3 separate regions of the Homo sapiens genome follow, and regions 2 and 3 are each linked to region 1. The links are contacts of gene promoters, found by promoter capture Hi-C in blood cells and fetal thymus (Javierre and others, 2016). All regions are on one chromosome and are shown on one strand. The core of a region is centred on a gene start or on the middle of the fragment in contact, and the rest is flanking DNA. Distances in the headings are between cores, read along the strand shown.

Evidence for each region. Contacts are between HindIII fragments. The CHiCAGO score rates a contact against its expected background, and 5 or more counts as called.
Region 2: a fragment that was not itself captured here is called in contact with the fragment with the promoter of POLR1F in region 1 in 3 of 17 cell types (naive CD8 T cells, total CD8 T cells and activated CD4 T cells); the score reaches 6.5 in naive CD8 T cells.
Region 3: a contact is called between a fragment that was not itself captured here and the fragment with the promoter of POLR1F in region 1, in 2 of 17 cell types (naive CD8 T cells and total CD4 T cells). The highest score is 6.4, in naive CD8 T cells.

What each region holds. Positions count from the first base shown.
Region 1 is chr7:19,706,369-19,710,818 of GRCh38, forward strand. POLR1F (RNA polymerase I subunit F) reads right to left here and starts at 2,669. Exons shown (of 4, transcript NM_001002926.2): 1 at 2,395-2,669. The coding sequence starts at 2,648. RefSeq lists enhancers at 1,793-2,397, 2,362-2,431, 2,398-3,000, 2,542-2,821. The HindIII fragment of the contact is 8,345 bases long and covers 1-4,450 here.
Region 2 is chr7:22,077,491-22,081,940 of GRCh38, forward strand. No RefSeq gene overlaps it. Among named protein-coding and RNA genes, the nearest start is that of CDCA7L, 130 kb to the left of the region's middle. RefSeq lists enhancers at 553-697, 1,576-1,720, 2,737-2,881, 4,241-4,385 and cis regulatory regions at 625, 1,648, 2,809, 4,313. The HindIII fragment of the contact is 1,656 bases long and covers 1,712-3,367 here.
Region 3 is chr7:22,008,166-22,012,615 of GRCh38, forward strand. No RefSeq gene overlaps it. Among named protein-coding and RNA genes, the nearest start is that of CDCA7L, 64 kb to the left of the region's middle. The HindIII fragment of the contact is 4,993 bases long and covers 1-4,410 here.

The DNA of each region.
Region 1 (4,450 bases), core at 1,419-3,918:
ATCAAGACTTTATTTCCGCTAATCAAAGCCTTGTCTCTCAAGTATCAGAGTGATTCTCAAGGGGAAGGAGGGCTGTGGTCCCCTGGTGGAAGGGGGGACATGTGGAAATTTGTGATACTAGTCATGGTTATCACAAACTTTGCAGAAGCCAGGGAAGAAAAGAGTCTGTCATGTACAGGACAGTCTGATACAATGAGGAAATGTCCTTCGCTCTGACTTTTGAATAAAAGGACAAATCTATTTACAAATAGCTAGGCACCTAATTTAACTCTTAAAACACATCAACACAAAGTCATCTTTGCACAGTTTTAATATATATTAAAATTTTCAGGAACTTAGCAGTATATAAATTCAAGGGGGATTTTGTTAAAAGTCATCAGATATGTGAACACAGGCACCCAACACTATATACTTTTTCCTCCTTCACTTTTGTTTTTCAGATACCATCCTAAATAGGTATCAGGGCAAGGTGGTAGCCTCACTTCAGTTCTTTAATACTATATGTTCAATGTTTTGTCCCTTATTAGTAATGCATAGTTCAAAGTGTGGTGCCTGATTTGCACTTGAATAAACAGCATACCCAAGTAATATGGAAGGAGTGGTGTCCAGATCTGTTCAGAGCCACTCTGCGTGATTTCCCCCTCTAGCCTGTCAAGTGCAGGCAGTACTGGTTACAGAAAACAAGATAGTTGCTTGTGTTTCCAAATGTTATGACTACTTTGTATATCCTTTAATTTCTCAAATCCATCCTCTCTAATCATTTTCTCTTGGACAATTATAACATTATCTTAATTCCTCTCCTTGTCCACTTTCTCATCCTATTTGGTAGCTAACCATTAAGTAAATGTTGTTTCTTAAACTGCAAATCTGATATGCCAGGGACTGCAGAGAAGTACTAGTTTCTCAAAAGTGTGCCAAGTCTCAGCGTTAAAGGGACTGAGAGGACGGAGCACTAACCCTGCTTAAGAAAACAGAAACACAAAAGGAAAAACAACAACAACCCCACCTTACCCCCAAAATAACAAAAACTGGCAATGGCAGGAAGGGAAAAGCAAAATGGCCATCCTCTCTGAGTCATCTTTGACCCCCTGCCCTCCTCTCCAATGGCATCCAATGCCTTTCCCCTGACATAAACCTTATTCTACTTATATAATAGATACAGTTCTCTGGGCAAAGCATACCAGTTCACATCCAGTATCCGTTTGTTTATGCCACTCTCTTTGCCTGGAATGTTACCATGTTAAAGTACCCTCTTCAATCAAGTTGTTCTCAAAGGTCCCAAGATCCAAATTCTACACTCCTTATCTTATTAGATTTCTGTCAAATTTTAACACTTTACTATTTATTGGCTTGTATTTGTATCTCTCCTACAGCTTAAAGCTCCTTGAAACAGAGATTTTATTTTTTGTTTTTGTATCTCAAGTGTTCGGTATGTAATATAAACATACAAGAAGTGTATATTGGTGCTTGGAAGAATCTGCAGATTCTAGACATGGGTGGAGGTCCAGGATCCCTTAAGAAACTGATAAAAACTTCCGATGCAGTGCCCAAGGAACTTCACATAGGAATTCCTGAAGGGCAATCATGAATCCCTAGAGAATCCATTCCCTCTAGTTTTAGAACCCCGCTTTTAAACCAAAGTATAGTCCAGAGGAATACTCAAGCACATGCCCGCGCCCCCCGCCCCACACCTCTGTAATTCTAAGTTTTCAAGTCACTTTTGAATACCGTAATATAAATGCATACGTTTTGGTTTTTTCTCTCCCCAAAGCAACAGGCTCACTAGTTCGACTGAATAAATCTTCTTAAAAACAACAAAATCCCGCTAAACTAATGGCATTTTCATAATCCCCAGATCAGGTCCAAGAGAAGAGAAAATGGGGAAATTACCAGAGCGAAATCCAACAACAAAAAAGGTCCTTCATGTTTTACAAATAGAACGGTTGTACTAATGCTTCGTATGCTATCTTCTATGGAATGAGAATCTACTCAAGCACTGCAAACCAGATTTTTATCGTCAAATGAGAAAGCATCATCCGTAAGGGGATAAATGAAACGTTGAATGCCAAACAGAACTGGGCCTACTAGGTCTCCAGATCCCTGGTCTTTTCCTACCCCTACACCAGGGTTCTGGAGCAAGAATCTCCACTCCCTCCGCCCACACCTGAACTTCATCTTTAAGTTTTCTTCTCTATCTATGAAAGGGACCCTGTATAGATCTTTACCAGAGCGGTACTGGCCTTGAGGGACGGATCGCGACTCTAGAAATCCAGGGGGCTAAGCTCTGGGGGGCAATGCGACCTTTGCCATTTGCCCCTTTCTGCTGCGTCGTCAGCACATCCACCTGCTTTACTTCCCGTGCACAAAAGAAGGAACAGGCAAAGAGATCGGTACCTCTCAGAATAGCGAAGGAGCTCCGCATCAAGCTGTTCTCGAATGCCGGTGCGTTTCCTGTTAAGGTAGCGGGGCGACAGCGCGATGTGCCTTTGGTGCGGCCCGGCCACCAGGCATGAGTAGCGACTGTTCACCAGCGCACAAGCAGCGGCATAAGTCGGCAACTCTAGGCAAGGCAGGACGCCAGCCTGCCCTACCAGAGACCCATCAGAAGCCGCCGCTGGCCGCGGCGCCTCTGAGCAACCTGCAGCCATGCTGCTTGTCAAGGTTCCCACGGCGCGCGCCGTTGACGCAAGCACAATCCCATGTCCCCGGCGCTCGTTTTACGCCATCCACCAACGACCACGCCCCTAGGAATTTCCCCTCTTTTCGCTGCATTACGCAGCCCTGACCAGCAGGGGGAACCGCGTTTTCGCGCTTCGAGAACGGGAGCTTAGAGCCTCGGAAATGCATTGAGCACGCAGGAAAGCCAACCGACTGCTCTTTTAAGGGCAGGCAAATGTGTGTTTTCGCACAGAGGCTTATTGGATTAAGTAGGTAGCTTAAAAATGGGGGTTCTCACTTTGATCATTTCCAGTAGTGAGGTGGGTTTGGTAGAATTTTACAGGCTTGGACTGTACAATAAAAAATCAAAATATTTATGGAGTATATTTTATGCAGTACACGGAATCCTAAGCAGGCCTGATAATTGTAATGCAACGCATCTGAAAACGAACCCACTAGTTCTCTCCTGTCCCGCTTCTCTTCTCATTATGCAACTGCTAAATCAGGGAATCATACAGCCAAGCTGTCAGCCTCGGATCCTCTTTTGTATCCCCAAGTATCAAATCAGCCTGAAGACCTGTATTGCCCAAAGTGGAAATATCATTCTATTTGGACACTATTCTCTTTCCCTGCCGCCAAAACCGCAGGACTCCCTGCCTGTGGAAGCCTAGCTCAATGGTCAGGAGGACACTCTGGGGCAGCCAGATCTTCCCTGAAATACATATGATCGTGTTGTGCCCTGTTTAAGCCCTACATAGGCACCCCATTTTCTCTAGGACAACACAAACTCATGAAAATGGCTTATAAGTTACAAGGCCATTTTGTGATCTGCGTGGGCACACAGCCTCTCTCTTCAGCTTCATTTGTCACACTCCCCACCCTAATATTATCATGCTGCTTGATCTACTTTCAGGTCTCTCTTTGTGCAGTCTCACGCTGTTCCTTCCACCAGGGAATATAATAGCATTTTTCACAAGGGTAAATTCTACTCATGTATGAATTTCTAGCTTAGATTTTACATTCTATACCTTTGCAAAGAGTTTTCAAGCACCCCACTCCTCTTTCTCTATAAGGATTAGGTAGTTACCCATCTATGTTGGTTTTTATGTTAATTTTTTATTAACTGTCTTTGCTTGCCTGTTCCATCAATAGATTCCTACACTCACTAAAGTGGGGACCATAATATCTGTATTGTTCACTACAGTAGCCCCCCACAATTTATCCCTCCTCCAAAGAAACGAAACCAAGAAAAACCCAACCAATACATCTTGAATGAATAACCTGATAGTGAGTTAATAAATAATAAGTGATAAAGAGCTCACAGCCTAAGTGGAAGTGGGATCTAAACATAAACATATAACAGGTTATGCTGGATAAGTGCCAAGAGAAATGTATAGCAGTGATGTGAGTATTAACATACTCCCTCATCTCCTAAATACTGCAAAAAGCCTCTTAGCCTCTCTAAACCTGATTTCTGACTTGTAAAATACGAAAAATAATACTTGCCCTGCTACCTTAGAGAGATGATAGGAGGGTCAAACAAGATAAATAAAAGGCATTTTCTTTAATATTCCTTAAATAACTGCAAACTCAGCATGAGATGATAGTGGGATGAGACTGCCCCCAAAACCTAATAGTAGACACTTTTAAGTCCATAAATGGGAAACATAATGGCTTTTACCTTCATTTTGTTGCAAAGTCCTGTGATACCCCTGTGCAGGACCCTTTTGTTCAATGTGCTCAAACTTGGCTAAACAATGAAGTCACCTAAGGTGAGGAGCTTTAAGAACTC
Region 2 (4,450 bases), core at 1,290-3,789, 2.4 Mb after region 1:
AGAAGCTGTACAAATGCATACCTCTGAACCTTAAGCTTTATTATTTATTTGCTTCAGTATAAATCTACTTCTGCTGTGAAAACATTTAACTTGGGGTTTTTTTTTTAGAAACAGAAAAAAGCTTTAAGAATGGCAGAAATCTTATTTTGTAGAGAGAACTAAATTTTGTTGAGTCCACATATTTGTGTAGGCAAAAATCATAACTTTTATACAGTAGCTGTTTGTACAGATGTGGCTATTGAGTAATAATTCAGGCCCATGGACTATGAGAGGTACGTGAGATGGCGGTGGGGGAGAGGGTGGCTTGTTAGACCAGGGCATTGATGAGGCAGACCTGAGCAGCTGGGAATCAGCCATGGTTCAGACTCCCGGCAATTCCAGCTTTGCTCTGAGCCTCTTTGGAAGCCCTTCCCCAACATCACCCACAATGTTGCGATAACCACCATCTGATCCTTGGCAAACAACTTCCTTCAAAACAAAACAAACAACAACAACAACAAAAAAAACAGCAACTTCTCTTCTCTTCCATCTCACCCCAAAACATCATTCTTTCTTTGTCAAGTTCATTGAACCAGGTGGTAGGAGAAATGAGTTCTTTTTTGTTGTTCAGTGGGTGGAAAGGTATATCAGCCTCAGCTTTGGAGTTCATTTTTATTTGACATGACTTTTGTAATGGGTTCTGATGTGTCTCTGGTGTAGTCACACTAAGAAACCAGTGAAAACACTTCCACAGGTTCAGACACACGGGCTAACTCATGATGAATCCTTACCCAGTGACCCACGACAACAACATGGGGCCGTGGTGGGAAGGAGGGAGATGCACACCCCTTTGCTCAGATGACTGTGTTTCCTCCCTTCAGAAACTGTACTCTTTGCATGTTTTCACCTAGAAAGTAGGAAGAAGAGCCCCAAAAACATACTGACTGAAAGAATAACCTCTTGCTTGGAATTTGAGCTGAAGACATCCATATCTCTATGCCTGGAGCCAAGGCTTCATGGGGAACATTCTTAAATATCTTCCAGGCAACAGTAGCACTGTATTGTGCTATTGAATCACTCAATCTTTTCTTTCTGCTGAAAATAGCTCTGCCCAGGTTATTCTCTGAACTTTATGAGACTGAAATACTGTAGGACAAACCAAAAGAGCTTAGGAGAAGAAATTTTATATTCTTGAGAAGTTCTTCTGGAACTTTGAGATCCCTTTGAATTCCAGTTTTGTAATTTTATGATCTAGAAATCTGCTTCCAGGATGCCTCTGATTTGGAAACACTGAAAATATCTATTAAATTTTGTATGTCTATGAGGGTGAATGGTGTACAGGGAAAATGTTGGTGTTAATTTTTGTGAGTTAATCATGAATAAGTTCCAAATTATTCAAAGTTCTAGTAATTTCTAAATCTAATCCAAATGTAAAATCTTTAACTCTGATACTTCAAGATGGTGAGAGGTGAAGCCAGCTGGACTTCTGGGTCGAATGGGGACTTGGAGAACTTTTCTGTCTTACAAGAGGATTATAAAATGCACCAGTCAGCACTCTGTAGCTAGGATTGTAAAACGCACCAATCAGCACTTTGTAGCTAGCTAGAGGTTTGTAAAATGCACCAATCAGTTCTCTGTAAAAATGGACCAATAAGCAGGATGTGGGCGGGGACAAATAAGGGACTAAAAGCTCGCCACCCCAGCCAGCAGGGGTCCCCTTCCACGCTGTGGAAGCTTTGTTCTTTCGCTCTTCACAATAAATCTTGCTGCTGCTCACTCTTTGGGTCCACATCAGCTTTAAGAGCTGTAACACTCACTGCGAAGGTCCGCAGCTTCATTTTTTAAGTCAGCGAGACCAAGAACCCACTGGAAGGAACCAACTCTGGAAGCAATGGAGCTCAATGTAAATAAGTTACAGTAATAGGACAGCTAAGGTGTATAAGATATCAGTATTTTAAGGAGTGATTTATAATGCAACTGTATTATAAGAGATTAATAAACACACCAAGAAAGGAAAGTTTTCACCTTTTAAGAGGAGAAATTTTATTGCACTATGTGACTTTATACTTACCTTATTGTACTGATGCACAGAAATAGAGATTTGGTTGCCAAATATTTTTAATTCTACTGTAAGTTGAATTTTAAATAATAAAAAGTAAAATTAGTAGCCAGGAACAAAACCTAAAATAGGCAGTGGTCTAGCATATGATTGTGACTCTTCTGTTTAATTCTGTAAAATGAAAAAGAAAACCAAATGCTACCTACAACAAAAACACATTTGGAAAAAAACATCATCCTGCCTCAGCCTCCCAAGTAGCTGGGACTACAGGTGCATGCCACTGCACCCAGCTAATTTGTTTTATTTTTAGGATAGCATCTTGCTATGTTGTCCAGGCTGGTCTCAAAAGTCTGGCCTCAAGTTATTCTCCTGCCTCAGCCTCTGCAGTAGCTGGGTTTATAAGTGCAAGCCACACCTATATTTTAAATCTATGTCATACATGAACAGGCACTTTTCAAAAGACACACACGCAGCCAAAAAGCATATGAGAAAAGCTCAATATTACTGGGCATTAGAGAAATGCAAATCAAAACCACAATAAGACAGCATCTCACCCTAGTCAGAATGGCTATGATTAAAAATAAAAAAATAAAAAACAGAAGCTGGTGAGGTTCCAGAGAAAGGGGAACACTTATACACTGTTGGTGGGAGTGTAAATTAGTTCAACCATTGTGGAAAGCAATATGGTGATTCCTCGAAGAGCTAAAAGCAGAACTACCATTTGACCCAGAAATCCCATTACTGGGTATATACCCAGAGGAATATAAATCGTCCTACCACAAAGACACATGCACAGTGTTCACTGCAGCACCATTCACAATAGCAAACACATGGAATCGACCTAATCGCCCAACAATGACAGACTGGATAAAGAAAATGTGGTACATGTATGCCATGGAATACTATGCAGCCATAAAAAAGAATGAGATCATGTCTTTTGCGGGAATACGGATGGAGTTGGTGGCTACCATCCTTAGCAAACTAATGCAGGAACAGAAAACCAAATACCACATGTTCTCACTTATAAGCGGGAGCTGAAGGATGAGAACTCACGAACTCAAGGCAATAACAGACACTGGGGTCTACTTGAGGGAAGAGGGTGGGAGGAGGAAAAGGAGCAGAAAAAAATACCTGTTGGCTTAAGTTATTAATAACTATGGCTTAATACCAGGGTGATGAGATAACCTGTACAACAAACCCCCGTGACAGCAGTTTACCTATATAACGAACCTTCACATTACTCCCAGACCTAAAATAAATGTTAAAAAATAAATAAAGCTATGTCATAGAGGTAAAGTCAACATGTAGAAGTGAAATGTAGCATTGCCAAGCTTTTTTTCCCACAGCTATTTTCCACTGTAAATTCCCTAATAAAAGAACATCCAAGAATCAGAAACCATAACTCATATATTCATTCCCAGATATTTGCCAAATGCCAACACTGAAGATTTAGCAATTTTCACGGCAAAGTCCCTGCCCTCATGGTCTTTATATGGAAGTTTTGGCAAAGGCTCCAAGACAGTAGAAAATACATCCCAAGTGGGAAGGAGTCGTGGAAAAAGGAGAGGAAAGAAAGCCCACTTGCTTGTGTGCCTCTAAAACCCGGAGTACTGATATTGTCTTTATTTATAATTTTGATATTTTGCTTATAATTTTTTTGCATTAATATGGATTTTTTTTAAAAAAACAACATATTAAAACATAATTTATCCTGATTACTGCCTAATATACGTATCCACAGTATAAAATGGTTCTGAGGTTGAGAGTAGGCAGATTTCTTCAGAAGAAGCTGCAACTGTGCTGTGGCTCCTACCTCCTCTACCTCCCACCAGGGAAAGCCCAGACACTTAAAGAAGCTTCAGTAAGATTACTCTAAGGGCTTACTCTGGATGTCCTGTGCTTAGGGGACACAACACACTGGCCCACAGTGATAAATCCAAGGGATGGGCGACTCGGGGGCTGGTCTGCAAACCCAGCCTGGACAAGATTGCATGAATATTTTCTGTGAACCAGAGTGGGGAGGGAACACAGGAGAGGAAGAATTTTTGTAGGGTCACCTTGGGTCCTGTCTGGGAAGATAGCCAGGAGTAACTGGAGTGGTCTTGGCTGGAGGATGACTACATTTCTAGGGGCTGAGGGAGGTAAGGAAGGACTCAGTTCCCCAAGCCTTTCCCCCTGAGAGTTCACACTCCCCGTGAAAGGACTACACAGGGAAGAGTATGTACTCCCGTGACCCAACACTGGCACTTGCTGCATGTGGCAGATCTTTAGTATTACGTTGATGCAAAAGTATTTGCGATTTGCCCATTACTTTTAAAGGCCAAAACAGCAATTACTTTTGCAGCACCATAATACTTTTTTGTTATCGGAGTTCTTGCAGGTAACCACAACCAGCAAGTGCTAGTGTGGGGT
Region 3 (4,450 bases), core at 664-3,163, 2.3 Mb after region 1:
GAGCCAGAATTTGTCCCTGGGACAGGATGAGGAGTCCAGGAGAAGCAGCAGTAGACAGGCTGTGCTGGGAGTCATCAGGGGCCACCAGGATACAAGGGGTGGGGGGAGCCCAGCTGCCTTGCTGACTTGCCTTTCAACCCTGATGTCTGCTCTCTTGGTAGTAAGCCAGAAGTGGGGCGTGGGACGATGTGACAGGAGCACCAACGTCCCCACCAAGCCATCACAGCAACAGGCTTTGTCCAGGATCTTCTGGAAAGGATCCAAAATGAATTGTGCTTCCTAACACTCGTTTCAGGAATAGGTGCCAAAGTCTCTATTTAGTGCATTTCTGTATTGAAAGGAACATTTGTCCAAGGGAATCCACAATTTACAATAAGCATAATCACTGGCTATACTGCACCTGAAAATTCCAAAGAGATGATGATATGTTTCAGAACAGCACCCTCTGTCCCATGGATGGATTGGAATAGGAATCCTTTAGTCTGTTTATGGCTGCACTTTGGAAATTTTAGTGTGACTACTTCCTCAGGGAACTCTGTTATTTACATCTGTTTATTCTCAGAAACTGGTATATTGCCTGGCAGTTATTAGGTAATCAATAAAAAGAAGGAAGTGGGGGAGAGGGAAATAGGGGGAGAGGGAAGGGGGGAAGAAGTGGGGAGGGAATAGTATGTGCTCGTTATAGAGATTTGGAAAACATAGCAAGATACAAAAGTGAAAATAAGAATTACTCGAAAATCCCGCTAAGAAATAACCTTTATTAATGATCTGTTCTCTACTCTTTCAGCCATCTAAACTCACCTCGTTTCATTGTTTACAAAGTTCAAATCACAACGCACATTCAATTTTGTATCTTGTCTTTTAAATTCACATTCTACCACTAGTATTTTCACACATTCAAACTGTTGAAAATCACATCTTTTTTTTTAATGGCTAGATGATTAATCTAGCACATTACATTTTCTTTCTTTCTTTCCTTTTTCTTTTCTTTTCTTTTTTTTTTTTTTTTTTTTTTGAAACTGAGTCTCTTCCTATCGCCCAGGCTGGAGTGCAGTGGCACGATCTCAGCGCACTGCAAACTCCACCTCCTGGGTTCAAGTGATTCTCCTGCCTCAGCGTCCTGAGTAGCTGGAACTACAGGCGTGCACCACCACTCCCAGCTAATTTTTCTATTTTTAGTAGAAATGGGGTTTTGCCATGTTGGCCAGGCTGGTCTCGACTCCTGACCTGGCCTCAGATGATCCACCCGCCTCAGCTTCCCAAAGTTCTGGAATTACAGGCATGAGCCACCACACCCAGACAAGCACATTACATTTTCTAAAAACTACCAAGGTAATTTAGCTCTACAGATTTTTCCTAGGAAACAGAACTTCACCTCTCCTGCAACAATGATGGGGCAATTGTTCCGAAGAAAAATATTGACCAGCTCATCTATATTTCAACTTTAAGTTTCCTGGCACAAATACGACATTTTATAATGAGTTGACAAGGAACTATCAACTTGACACATAGTCACAGTCACTGTCTCTCCAAAGGTGTCAGGGGTATGGAGCAGAGGAGAGTGGATAGTAAGAATGGGAGAGAAGATGGGGCTGCTCTGAAAACCTCGCCCCTTGGAGAAAGGCCAAAGAACCACTCCCATATGGCGCTTGCTCTTTCTCCCACGCTCCAAGGCTTTTTACCTTTGTGATTCCACCCGTCAGGTTTGACTGTGACTCTTCATCGATAACATAACCAAACTGCAGGTTCATTCACTTACCACTTGCAGAGTGCAATTAACAAGAGCAAAGTCTTGTAGAAAGAAAGTGACCTTTTATTCCAAAGCTAGCTTAGGGTAAGCAGCACAGTCTTCTTGCCTTAAGGGTACCGAGTGGCCTCTGGAACAGGAATGCGGGCACTTTTAAAAGGGGGCCTAGCATGAATAACACCCAACGTAGGAAGCAAACAGGTGGGGATATGAGTACCCGCTTTGGTGCCTTATCTACTGGGCAGTCAAGTTAGCACCTGTTTGGGCAGAATTAGGTTGTAAAGGCGGCTGAAACTCTGCAGATAGAAGACTTCGTGGTGGGCAGATTTGGGCTGCGGATTGACTGTTGTCCTTCGAGGCAGTCTCCTGGTGGAAAAAGAGTTCTACTCTGGAGCTTCTAAGCTCATACTTACCTCAACTTGCCTTGTAGGGAGTGTTTGGTGAAGGGGAGGTAAAAGGTTATAATTGCATTTCTAAAGGACTAAGTAGGAGGTGGGGAACAGAAGGAAATGGATAAAAAAGAAAAGAATAGAAAAAGTTTAAAAATATTAACTCATTCTCTTTTTTGAAAAATGGGGGTACTCAGTTACAATAGGAATGAGTGCCTCCTATTCCAATAGGCTGCTCTGGGGCTAGCCTATTCTGGATTCCTCCATGTGCCCCCAGAAGCAACAGGCTGCCTGGCATGATGAGCTCTCAGTTTTAATATCGATTCTGAAAATCAACTGGTGAGCAAATAGGATTCTAATTTAACAGCTTTTTAAAAAGTTATTTTAGGCCAGGAGCCGTGGCTCATACCTGTAATCCCAGCACTTTGGGAGGCCAAGGCGGGCAGATCACGAGGTCAGGAGATCGAGACCATCCCGGCTAACATGGTGAAACCCCCTCTCTACTAAAAATACAAAAAATTAGCCGGGCGCAGTGGCGGGCGCCTGTAGTCCCAGCTACTCGGGAGGCTGAGGCAGGAGAATGGCGTGAACCCGGGAAGCGGAGCTTGCAGTGAGCCGAGATGGAGCCACTGCACTCCAGCCTGGGTGACAGAGTGAGACTCTGTCTCAAGGAAAAAAAAAAAAAGTTATTTTAAAAAATTAAAGCATTTTAAATACGGGAGTCTTTTCCAGTTAATCACTAAATAAAAACATTTGGTTAACAATAAATATATTTTTACAAATTTGGTTAAAAACATTTACAATCTTTTTTGTTAAAAACATGAGAGCTGATCAATGTGATGGTTACAGTGACAGTTAATGACACAATTGAACAACAGGCATCGAGCAAGGTTGCCCAGATTCCTAAGTTATTCCATAGAAAGCTCTAAATTGAAATGGTGGTTATTTATGCTACAGGTTAATAATCAGATGAAATTTTATAGTTGCTGTCTTGAATAATTCCTCCTCTTCCTGTACATATATATTTAGGGATTGAATGAGTATATTTAAAAATCTTTCTAAAGTATATAATATTGACTGTTTCTGAGTCTTGTCCCCTTCCAGCCAGGATGCTGATGTTGAAGGTATGAGAATTGCTGCTTTGTCAACTTGACTCACTCATGGGACTTGACTTGGCCAGTTTCATGTGTTGGATTCAAATGGAATTAGATTTGAGTCCTAACGTTGCCACTTTCTAGCTGTGTTACGTTGGGCAGATTTTTAAACTGCCTGTTCCTTCGTTGGCTTATTTATAGATGCAGAAATAATATCTACTGCATCTGGTTATTGTGAGGATTAATGCTACGCTAATCCTTTAACATGCCTGACATGTAACAAGTGTTGGATAACGGTGGCTGCTGCTGTTTTTCCCTTTCAATCTGTCCCTGTGCATATTTCCCCTTAGCACTTTGGTTTCCATTTTCACCATTTCATTTTCTGCTTGTTTCATTATTACTGCGTTAGCTAGACATTTCCAGTGGGAAAGCTCCCAGCATGATGAATGGAATAGTGTGGCCTGGGAACTTTTTTTTTTTTTTTTTGAGATGGAGTTTTGCTCTTTTTGCCCAGGTTGGAGTACGGTGGCATGATCTCAGCTCACTGCAACCGCTGCCTCCCAGATTCAAGCGATTCTCCTGCCTCAGCCTCCTGAGTAGTTGGGATTACAGGTGCCCGCCACCACACCCAGCTAATTTTTGTGTATTTTTACTTGAGACTGGATTTCACCATGTTGGCCAGGCTGGTCTTGAACTGCTGACCTCAGGTGATCCACCCGCCTCAGTTCCCAAAGTTCTGGGATTACAGGCGTGAGCCACCGCGCCCGGCCGGCCTGGGGGAACTTTAACAGTAGCCCTCTAGGAGATCAACTGCTAATGGTACACTATTAGGTCATACAATTTCTGTTGCTGTAACAATTACTCACCTAAATCATAATAGCTTAAACAGCAAAGAAGTTAGTTATTTCTTATGTAGTTATTGAGAGTAAGAAGTTCAAGGATGATTTGGTGACTCTGTGGTGTTAGAGAACTGGATTCCTGGATACACCATCCTTTAGGACATTTTCATCTCATCTGAGTCTACCTGTCAACATTCCAGCAAGTAGGAAAGAGAAAAAGGACAAGGAGAGGACATGGGCACATTATTTCCTTTTAAGGACATGAACTGGATGTTGTACACATCACTTCCACTTGTATTTCTTCTGCCAGAACCTAGTCATATGGCCACATAGAGCAGTGAAGCTTGGAAATATGGTTTTTATTATTTGGGGCCGTGTAGC